2 separate regions of the Homo sapiens genome follow, and region 2 is linked to region 1. Evidence: promoter capture Hi-C in human tissues and cell types (Jung and others, 2019). All regions are on one chromosome and are shown on one strand. Each heading gives the region's core, a stretch centred on a gene start or on the middle of the fragment in contact. The rest is flanking DNA. Distances are from core to core; before and after follow the strand shown.

Region 1 (5,026 bases), core at 1,129-3,628:
AGTCCTGCACACGCCTGGGACTTGGGTGGTATCTCAGCAGCTCCTGGAGGTCCCAGTGGCCCTCCCTGAATGCATTTGCTGTTGTGCAGAGTTGGGTCCTTGGCCCCCTCATCTGGGCAGACGCCCACCAGCCAAGCTTAGATGGATGTGTACACCCAGAAAACTGGGGGGTGCCACCTCAGGACGGAGCAGGAGCAGCAGGATGTCATACGTTTCTGATGGGACACTACCGTGGTGGCCTTGAGCTCAGGCCCGGAGGCCAGGGCCCCTAGGGCCCTCTGCACAGTGCGGAAGTGAGGGCCACAGCCATTGTGGCCACTGAGCCTCTCCTTTTTGGGGGCTGCTCTTTAGCCTTTGATGGCTGCTAATGTTATGTGAATGATGCAACCCGCTGTAGGAATTCCTGACTGGCAAGAGTCATTCTGCCTCTGCAAGGCTAGGTGGGTCCTTCCCCATCCCCTCCAGGGCTGTGTGAACCAAAGGGTCCACGGGGACTTTCGGACTGCTCAGAGTCTGTGCAGAGTGGTATGTGTGTGCGCGTGTGTGTGGTGTGGTATGTGCAGAGTGATGTGTGCATGCATGTGTGTGTATGTGTGTGTACATGCATGTGCGTGTGTGTGTGTGTTCCAGTGAAGGGCTGGGGTCCAAATGCTCCTCACTTGCTAAGAGCAGCCTGTGATGCCACAGTGGTCTCTGATGCTGAGTGATGTCATCCCTCCTTGCCCGTCTGTTGTGCTGGCAGCCCTGTTACTGAGGATTTCTCCTGGACTAGCTCATCAGGGGCTGAGTAGTTAATTCCCAGGGCACCACAGAATCCTTTCTCCCAAGGCCCTGAGGACCACGTGCCCCTGCACTTCCCACAACCGTCCCCTGCCTGGGACTCTGTTTACATGTGGAGTTCCTGGGAAGGCCGGCCTGGTGCAGGCTCCTTGAGGGCCTAACTCCCATCCCCAAGCCCAGACAGTGACTTATGGAATTGGGGGGCAGTGGGGAGGAGGAGGGTGCAGGAAAGCGGGGGGAAGGAGGAGCCTCCAGTTGCCACTAAATGGTGACAATCCCACCCCACATTTCTTGAGTGTTGGCCATGTGCCAGCCCCTGTGCTGAATCTTGACGCTCAGTGTCTCATGTCACCTTCACAATAGTGGCGATGGTGGTTAGCCCATTCTACAGGAAGGGGAACTGAGGCACACAGAGCTTCTGAGCTCACGGTGGCCTCTCGGGGTCCTGTGGCTTTGTAACCTCTCCTGGTGCTCCTCAGTGTGATTCTGGGGCATGGGGCTCTCCAGAGGGCGTTTGTCAAACATGAGGATTTCTGGGCCTTGCCCAGGCTAAGGAGACAAAACTCTGGGCAAAGGCCCCGGAACCAGCATTTTACTCTGTGTGATCCGTCATTTCTAGGGTCCCTAGAAGTTTCTGATGAAACAGCTTCCAGCTAAGGAGCTGATTGCAGGACTAGGGAGTGGGAGCAGGTGAGGCACTGGGATTTGCATGTGGGCAGTGTGGGGGAGCAGGAGGCTGTGGCTGGGCATTCTTAACCCTTCCCTAAATTCCCTCCATCCTTGTCTATACCCCCACCCTTGGTACAGTGATGGGGGCAGAAGAACATTTGAACGGATAAGGGGGACAGTATTTGGGGCTGAGGACAATGGTGAGGAGAGGGTGGCCCAGGGAGGCAGGTGAGGAGTGGGGAGGTCCACCCCCAGGCTAGACTTTGGTGTGCTCTTTTTCAGAAGGCAGTGGGGGGGCCCCAAGGAAGGGTTTCGAGGGGGTGATGGTCGTTGGTGGCTGTGGGAGGATGGACTGGAGGGAGAATAGGGGGCTCTTGCCCAGTCCTGCAGGGCCGAGCGCCTGGACTCAGGGACTGGAGGCCCCGAAGGGAGCAGCGGGTGAGAGGGGCTGCGGAGGCTGCAATCATGGGCCTTGGGACAGAAGAAGAGGCCTGGAGCCTGGGAGGATGAACCGCACCGGGGCATGTCGACTTCAAGGGGCTGGTGGGCCGTCCCTGTCCTTGGAGGTGGGTCTGAATGGGGGGCAGGAGGAGCTGGAGGCCGCAGGGACACCGTGACGGCGTTAAGCTAAACTCAGCACGCTGGAGGGCGGGAATCACATGTGAGCCCCAGGTCTCTCGGGCTCCTCCTCTGCGGCTCTCTGAGGCTCAGTTTTCTCATCTGTAAAACGGGTTGTTGTGAGGGTTCCGTCAGATAACGCTGCTTGTGGAGGTGTCGCCTCCACGCTGCTTGTGGAGGTGTCGCCTCCAACGGCCGCGTCCTCCGCCAGTGCGGGAGGGGGCGCCGCCCGGGCTGCGGGGACTGCACTGCCCCCTGGCGGCGTTCCCGGCCGGACAGGCGGGGCGTCGGGGCGCGGGCTGGGGCCGCTGTCAGTCAGTCCACTGGCTCCCGCGCCGCGTCTGTGTCCGTCGCTCGGAGGGTGGAAGCCGGGGTCTCGCGGGCCGCGGGCCGCATGGTAGGTGCGCAGGCGCCGGCGTGGGCTAGGGCGCGGCAGCTGGGCCGGGGCTCGGTGCGGGCAGGGTCGTCCTAGGGCGGGAAGGGTCCGAGGGCTCCGTCGGGGTGCCCCCCGTCCCCGCCACCGGGGAGCCTCGCAACTTCTCGGGTCATTTGTGTCTTCCGGCCAGGGGCGCCGGGGGGCTGCGGGCTTGCGACCCTTCCTCGAGGACCAGGGCGCCTCCCTTGAACCCGGGCTGGCGCCTGCGCGTTCCCAACTGGTTCCCGAGGCTCCCGCGCTGCTGTGCAGCGGGGGTGAGGGCGGGCGGGAGGAAGGGTGTGGGGCTCAATAGAGGAGAGGGAACCCCAGAACTGGCAGTGCCAAGGGCGTCAAATATGGAGACTGAACAGTTCAGGTGACAGAAAACAGAAAAAAGAATCAACTTGTGGATGAAGCATTTGTAGTGTGTAGCCTTGACACTCCCTCACTTGACTCTCATAGTGACTGGGTCCCCAGAGCAAGGGGGTGATCCCCGTGCCCTTCCGTATGCCAGGCAGGCCCTGTGTTAATGTCTTTAATGGATTAAACTCCCTGGATCCTCCTAATAGGGAAACAGCCTCAGAGAGGTTACCTCGCTAAAGGTCACACAGCCTGGAACTGGGGAGGCTGGATTCGAATCCAGGCAGTTGCTTCCTGAGCGCTTGCTCTTGAAGACCCTGCAATACCAGGCATTGTGCCCATTTTACAGATGCCCAAACGAGTGCCTCATCTAGCATCATTGCTTGAAAGAGGAGACACCCAAGATCTGTCATTTACTCAAAGGTTCCAATAGATCATGAAATTTAAAATCAAAACCCCACGTGTTTTTTTTTTTTTAAATGTAGATTTTTACTTTTTCGTTGTTTGCTTTTTGTTTTTTTGAGACAAGGTCTTTCTCTGTTGCCCAGGCTGGAGTCCGGTGGCACAATCTCCGCTCACTGCAACCTCTGTCTCCTGGGTTCAAACAATTCTCCCGCCTCAGCCTCCCAAGTAGCTGGAATTACAGGCGTGTGCTACCACGCCCGGCTACTTTTTGTATTGTTAGTAGAGACGGGGTTTCACCATATTGGCCAGGCTGGTCTTGAACTCCTGATCTCAAGTGATCCGCCTGCCTCGACCAAAGTGTTGGGATTACAGGTGTGAGCCACTGCACCAAGCTTATTTTTACATCTCTGACTTGTGGATGGAAGAGTTTTTTCTTTCTCAGTGGTGCCTAAAATAATGGTCATCATAGCGCTAATGTCACCTTTGGCTTGATGAGTGAGGACAGAGCCAGCATTCCCTGAATGATCTTTCTGGGCATCTCTCCCCTCTGTTCCACAGACTCCTCTCTGCCTCAATTGCTCTGTCCTCCCTGGAGACCTGTACCCAGGGGGTGCAAGGAACCCCATGGCTTGCAATGGCAGTGCGGCCAGGGGGCACTTTGACCCTGAGGACTTGAACCTGACTGACGAGGCACTGAGACTCAAGTACCTGGGGCCCCAGCAGACAGAGCTGTTCATGCCCATCTGTGCCACATACCTGCTGATCTTCGTGGTGGGCGCTGTGGGCAATGGGCTGACCTGTCTGGTCATCCTGCGCCACAAGGCCATGCGCACGCCTACCAACTACTACCTCTTCAGCCTGGCCGTGTCGGACCTGCTGGTGCTGCTGGTGGGCCTGCCCCTGGAGCTCTATGAGATGTGGCACAACTACCCCTTCCTGCTGGGCGTTGGTGGCTGCTATTTCCGCACGCTACTGTTTGAGATGGTCTGCCTGGCCTCAGTGCTCAACGTCACTGCCCTGAGCGTGGAACGCTATGTGGCCGTGGTGCACCCACTCCAGGCCAGGTCCATGGTGACGCGGGCCCATGTGCGCCGAGTGCTTGGGGCCGTCTGGGGTCTTGCCATGCTCTGCTCCCTGCCCAACACCAGCCTGCACGGCATCCGGCAGCTGCACGTGCCCTGCCGGGGCCCAGTGCCAGACTCAGCTGTTTGCATGCTGGTCCGCCCACGGGCCCTCTACAACATGGTAGTGCAGACCACCGCGCTGCTCTTCTTCTGCCTGCCCATGGCCATCATGAGCGTGCTCTACCTGCTCATTGGGCTGCGACTGCGGCGGGAGAGGCTGCTGCTCATGCAGGAGGCCAAGGGCAGGGGCTCTGCAGCAGCCAGGTCCAGATACACCTGCAGGCTCCAGCAGCACGATCGGGGCCGGAGACAAGTGACCAAGATGCTGTGTAAGTGTCACGGCTGGGAAGAGGGGCTGAGCCAGGCACTGGGTATGAGTTTGGGGCTCCTGGGGCCTGGGAGAAGGGGCTGAGTATCTGGGTTTATGGGGGACGAGGAACTCCTCTAGTCTCGTGTGTGTGTGTGTGTGTGTGTGTGTCTGAGTTGCACTCCTGTGTACTCTTTTAGATTACCCTACTAGAATCTTACACCAAAAATACCTGTTAATGGCTAACGGTAAGATTGTGTAATTTGTGGAGTCCAGTGCAACATGAAAATTCAGGGTCCCTTTTTCAAAAATGAATAAGAATGTCAAGACAGCAACAACAGAGCATTA
Region 2 (4,909 bases), core at 1,414-3,913, 250 kb before region 1:
TAACCTCACCTCAATTTTCTTATCTGTAAGATGGGGAAAATAATAGTACCTATCTCATGGGGCTGTAAGAGTAAATGAGTTGATATCTAAAGCATTTAGAAAAGCACCTGATCCACAGTGAGCATTATGCTTTAGCCAGTGTTATTCTTGTTATTATTAGAGAAGTTGCACATCTCTTCTATTTGGCCATTTCTTTTTCTTCTGTAAATTGTTTGTTAATTTTGTTTTTGCCCATTTTACTATTGTTTATTTTTCTTATTTGTAGATGTTCTTTACATATTGTAATATCAATCCTTTGCCTATTATGTATTTTGCAAATATTTTCTTTCAATGTATTGTCTCCTTTTTTGTTGAACAGAATTTTTAAATTGTCATTTCAAATTTATTTTATTTCATTTGTTTGAGACGGAGTCTTGGTCTGTTGCCCAAGTTGGAATGCAGTGGCGCAATCTTGGCTCACTGCAACCTCCGCCTCCCAGGTTCAAGCAATTCTCCTGCCTCAGCCTCCTGAGTAGCTGGGATTACAGGTGCATGCCACCATGCCCAGCTAATTTTTGTATTTTTAATAGAGATGGGGTTTCACCATGTTGGCCAAGCTGTTCTCAAACACCTGACCTCATGATCTGCCTGCCTCTGCCTCCCAAAGTGCTGGGATTACAGGCATGAGCCACCGTGCCTGGCCTCAAATTTATTAATATTTGCCATCTGGCTTTTGCATTTTGTATCTTGTTTAAAAAGATCTTTCTTATCCCAAGATTAACTAAATATCCTATCTTTTCTTCTCTTTTCAATGTTTAGCTCTTTAATCCACCTGGAACGTATTTACACATTTGGTATGTGGTAGACATCTAAGTACTTCTGCTGTTTGGATAGCCAATAGTTCCAGTACTATTTACTAAGTAGTTAGTCCATCTTTTCCTCACTGTTTTGAAATGCCATCCTTGTCATATACTAAATTTTCATAAGACATAGGTTTTTTTTTGGATTATTTCTGTTTCATTGATCTATTTGTCTCTTCTTGTACCTATACACATTTGATTGAATTATTATAGCTTTATAATATGATTTAGTATAGTTTACAATAGAATGGTCTGTGACTAACATAATATGTGTGTTTAAGGTCCCTACAAATATGTGCCCCTTTTGTTCACATGGAAGCTTGCCCATATGCCCATAGTAGATAGAAACATGAGGACTTGGCTGGGCATGGTGACTCACACCTGTAATCCCAGCACTTTGGGAGGCCTAGGTGGGAGGATTGCTCAAGGCCAGGAGTTCAAGACCAACCTGGCCAACATAGCGAGACCCCCAACTCTAAAAAAAAAAAATTTAAAGATACTGCATAAAAGTGAATACTGTATGCATAAATTAGGCATGGTCTGAGTGAATTCAGTAGAAGCTTTGTATTTGCCATCAGTTGTTTCAAAAACAAAATCTTATAAGATTTTATTCTTGTATCACCTTCACCCCATCTCACCCTACCTCTTTCAGAGTATCTGTTTTTGTGAGAAGAGTTTATCACTACAAAAAGAGCACCATTATGATCTCCTGCCAACAGTGTTGATAGTACTCAGTTTTCCACGTTGACTAGGTCAATCTTTTTTATTTTTGCCAGTTTGGACAACACATTGTTTCGATTTGTATTTTCCTGGATCCCTAGATCCATACAAGGTAATATAGCATAGTGGTTAAGAGCTATACTGGACTGTGGCGCTATACTACCTCTCAAGAAATGCAAGGCTCTCATACACATTAAGAACCTTGCATTTCTTTCTTGTTTGTTAAAAGCATAACATTTCCTAATTGTAAATTAATGTTATGAATGAAATGTTACTTGGGGAACAATATGATTCTCCTGCAAATATTTTGGATTTGATTATTTTAAGCAGCTGACATAGAGATTGATGTTTGTAAATCCCACGTTTCCCATTTCGTTCCTTCAACAAAGGTCTGTTGGGTGACTATTATGTATAGGGCACTCTACACTTGAAGGATACAAAAATGAATAACTTACAGTCCCTTCTTTCCAGAAGCTTAACCAGCTTTATGTCTGTTTAGAAGGAATATCTTCAAAAGCAATGCATTTTTTAAAATTCTATTTAATTTTCCTATTACAAACGCCAGCCACCTAGAGTGACCTTTGTAAATATTATTTAATATAGCCTTCTAATGTAGCTAATGTTTAATGTGTTTTTTATAAAAATGGAATTGTAAATATCACTTTGTAACTTACTTTGTTCACTTAATAATAGATTTACCATGTTTATGATTTCCAAAGATAGTTACTTTCAGTTGCTTTCACTGACAGATTTGTCACAGTACTCTTTTTTTTTTTTTTTTTTTTTTGAGACGGAGTCTTGCTCTTGTCACCCCGGCTGGAGTGCAGTGATGTGATCTCAACTCACTGCAACCTCTACCTCCGGAGTTCAAGCGATTCTCCTGCCTCAGCCTCCCAAGTAGCTGGGATTACAGGCACCTGCCACCACGCCCGGCTAATTTTTGTATTTTTAGTAGAGAGGGGGTTTCGCCATGTTGGCCAGGCTGGTCTCGAACTCCTGACCTCAGGCCTCCCAAAGTGCTGGGATTACAGGCGTGAGCCACTGCACCTAGCATTTGTCACAGTACTCTTATACTAGCTTTCTAGTATAGTCTGTATCTACTGTTTTGCCTATTTGAATAGCTTTTTCATCAACATAAAAATATAACTTTATTAAATTAACAAGAAACTGACAGACTTCCATAAGAATGAATTATGCTTTTATGATTTCATTATCTTTAATCCATCTGAATTTTCTTTGGTATAAGATACAGAGTAGTAATGTAGCTTTTTTTTAATATTGGCTTATTGTCTCCATTTATTTATTTAATTCATTTATACGTCAGATATTATAATATCCAGAATATAAATGGCTGCCTACAAATCAATAGGATAAGCATTTAACTCAAAGTGGACAAAGGATATGAACAAGCAGTTCCTAGAAGAAAAAGCAGATGACCAATGAATAAATGAGGACATGCTCAACCTTGTTAAAATAATAGACTATCTTCCGGGTGCAGGGGCTCATGCCTGTAATCCCAGCACTTTGGGAGGCCAAGGTGGGTGGATTGCTTGAGCCTAGAAGTTTGAGACCAGCCTAGGCAACATGGCAAGACCCCGCCTCTACAAAAAAAAAAAAAAAACACACACAAAAATTAGCCAGGTGTGGTGGTGCATGCTTGTGGTCCCAGCTACTGGGAGGCTGAGGTGAGGGGATCACCTGAGCCTGGGAGGTGGAGGTCGCAGTGAGCCAAGACTGTGCCCCACTGCATTCCAACCAGGGTAACAGAGTGAGACCCTGTCAATAATAATAATAATGGACTATCTCTTCCCAATTAATTGACACAGATTTAAAAGATTGATAATATATATGTATATCCTGAAAGTGGCACTGTACGAAAATAAAATTAAAAATTAGGCCAGGCACAGTGGTTCACGCCTGTAATCCCAACACTTTGGGAGACCAAGGTGGGCAGATCACTTGAGGCCAAGAGTTTGAGACCAGCCTGCCCAACATAGCAAAACTCCCTCTCTATTAAAAATACAAAAAATTAGCCAAACTTGGTGGCACACGCCTGTAATCCCAGCTGCTCAAGAGGCAGAGGCAGGACAATTGCTTGAACCCAGGAGGCAGAGGTTGCAGTGAGCTGAGATCACACCACTGCACTCCAGCCTGGGCTACAGAGTGAGACTCTGTCTCAAAAAAAATAAAAATAAAAATTTATTAAAAAAAAAAAAGATGCCAGGCACAGTGGCTCATGCCTGTAATGCCAGCACTTTGGGAGGCCAAGGTGGGCGGATTACTTGAGGTCAGGGATTCGAGGCCAGCCTGGCCAACATGGTGAAACCCCGTCTCTACTAAAAATACAAAAATTAGCTGGGCATGGTGTGGACAGCTGTAATCCCAGCTATTATTAGGGTGCCTGAGGCAGAAGAATCACTTGAACCTGGGAGGCCAAGGTTGCAATGAGCCGAGATTGCACCACTGCACTCCAGCCTGGGTGACAGAGAGAGACTCAGTCTCAAAAAAAAAAAAAGATAATATTCAGTGTTCACAACATTGAGGGAAAGGGGCACTCTCATTTGGTTTATGTGTGTGTGTGTAGTGTCTGTAGAAAGTAATTGGTATCTATCAAATGTTTACACATTACTGCAGTAGAGTATATAGCACAGTGGTTGAGAGTATGGGCTCACTTCCAAGGTTTAGACTTACTGCCTCTGCTATTGTGACTCTCAACAGAACACTCAGACTCTGAGCCTCAGCATCTGTATCTCATATTATCAGAGGGTTGTTTTGAGAATTAAATGAAACTGCATAAAAGATGTTTGGTTCAGGGCCTGGCATATAGTAATATCTGCTGCCATTCATTTTATTAATAATTACTAATAATAATGACAGGCCAGGTATAGTGGTTCATGCCTGTAATCCCAGCTCTTTGGGAGGCCGAGGTGGGTGGATCACCTGAGTTTGGGCATTCAAGACCAGCCTGGCCAACATGGTGAAATCCCGTCTCTACTAAAAATACAAAATTAGTCAGGCGTAGTGGTGTGCACCTGTAATCCCAGCTACTCGGGAGGCTGAGGCAGGAGAATTGCTTGAACCCAGGAGGTGGAGGTTGCAGTGAGCCGAGATCACGCCAGTGCACTCCAGCCTGGGTAACAGAGTGAGACTCCATCTCAATAATAATAATAATAATAATGACAATAGTGTTAATATGATTGTAAAGCTACTTATTTCTCTGAGATATAACTAATGCCTTCATTCTAGTTATATTTTCTTACTGAAAAACTATCGTATTTCCATTTTGCCTCTGAATAAATGATTCAATAAGCATTGATATATACCTCATGTTTATCTTGTCTAGAAAATGA

Evidence for each region. The method cuts DNA at HindIII sites, captures the fragments that hold promoters and counts their contacts. A contact is called where the count stands out against the background at its distance.
Region 2: a fragment that was not itself captured here is called in contact with the fragment with the promoter of NMUR1 in region 1 in 2 of the 25 tissues and cell types used here (aorta and lymphoblastoid cells).

What each region holds. Positions count from the first base shown.
Region 1 is chr2:231,527,797-231,532,822 of GRCh38, reverse strand. NMUR1 (neuromedin U receptor 1) reads left to right here and starts at 2,378. Exons shown (of 3, transcript NM_006056.5): 1 at 2,378-2,464; 2 at 3,806-4,700. The coding sequence starts at 2,462. It overlaps LOC105376787 (a long non-coding RNA gene), which reads right to left and starts at 653. Exons shown (of 4, transcript XR_001739928.2): 1 at 1-653. RefSeq lists enhancers at 692-1,426, 3,916-4,442, 4,443-4,970 and a silencer at 2,121-2,550. The HindIII fragment of the contact is 18,375 bases long and covers 1-5,026 here.
Region 2 is chr2:231,773,759-231,778,667 of GRCh38, reverse strand. All of the region lies in intron 1 of PDE6D (phosphodiesterase 6D), which reads left to right. Among named protein-coding and RNA genes, the nearest start is that of PDE6D, 5.1 kb to the left of the region's middle. The HindIII fragment of the contact is 7,341 bases long and covers 1-4,909 here.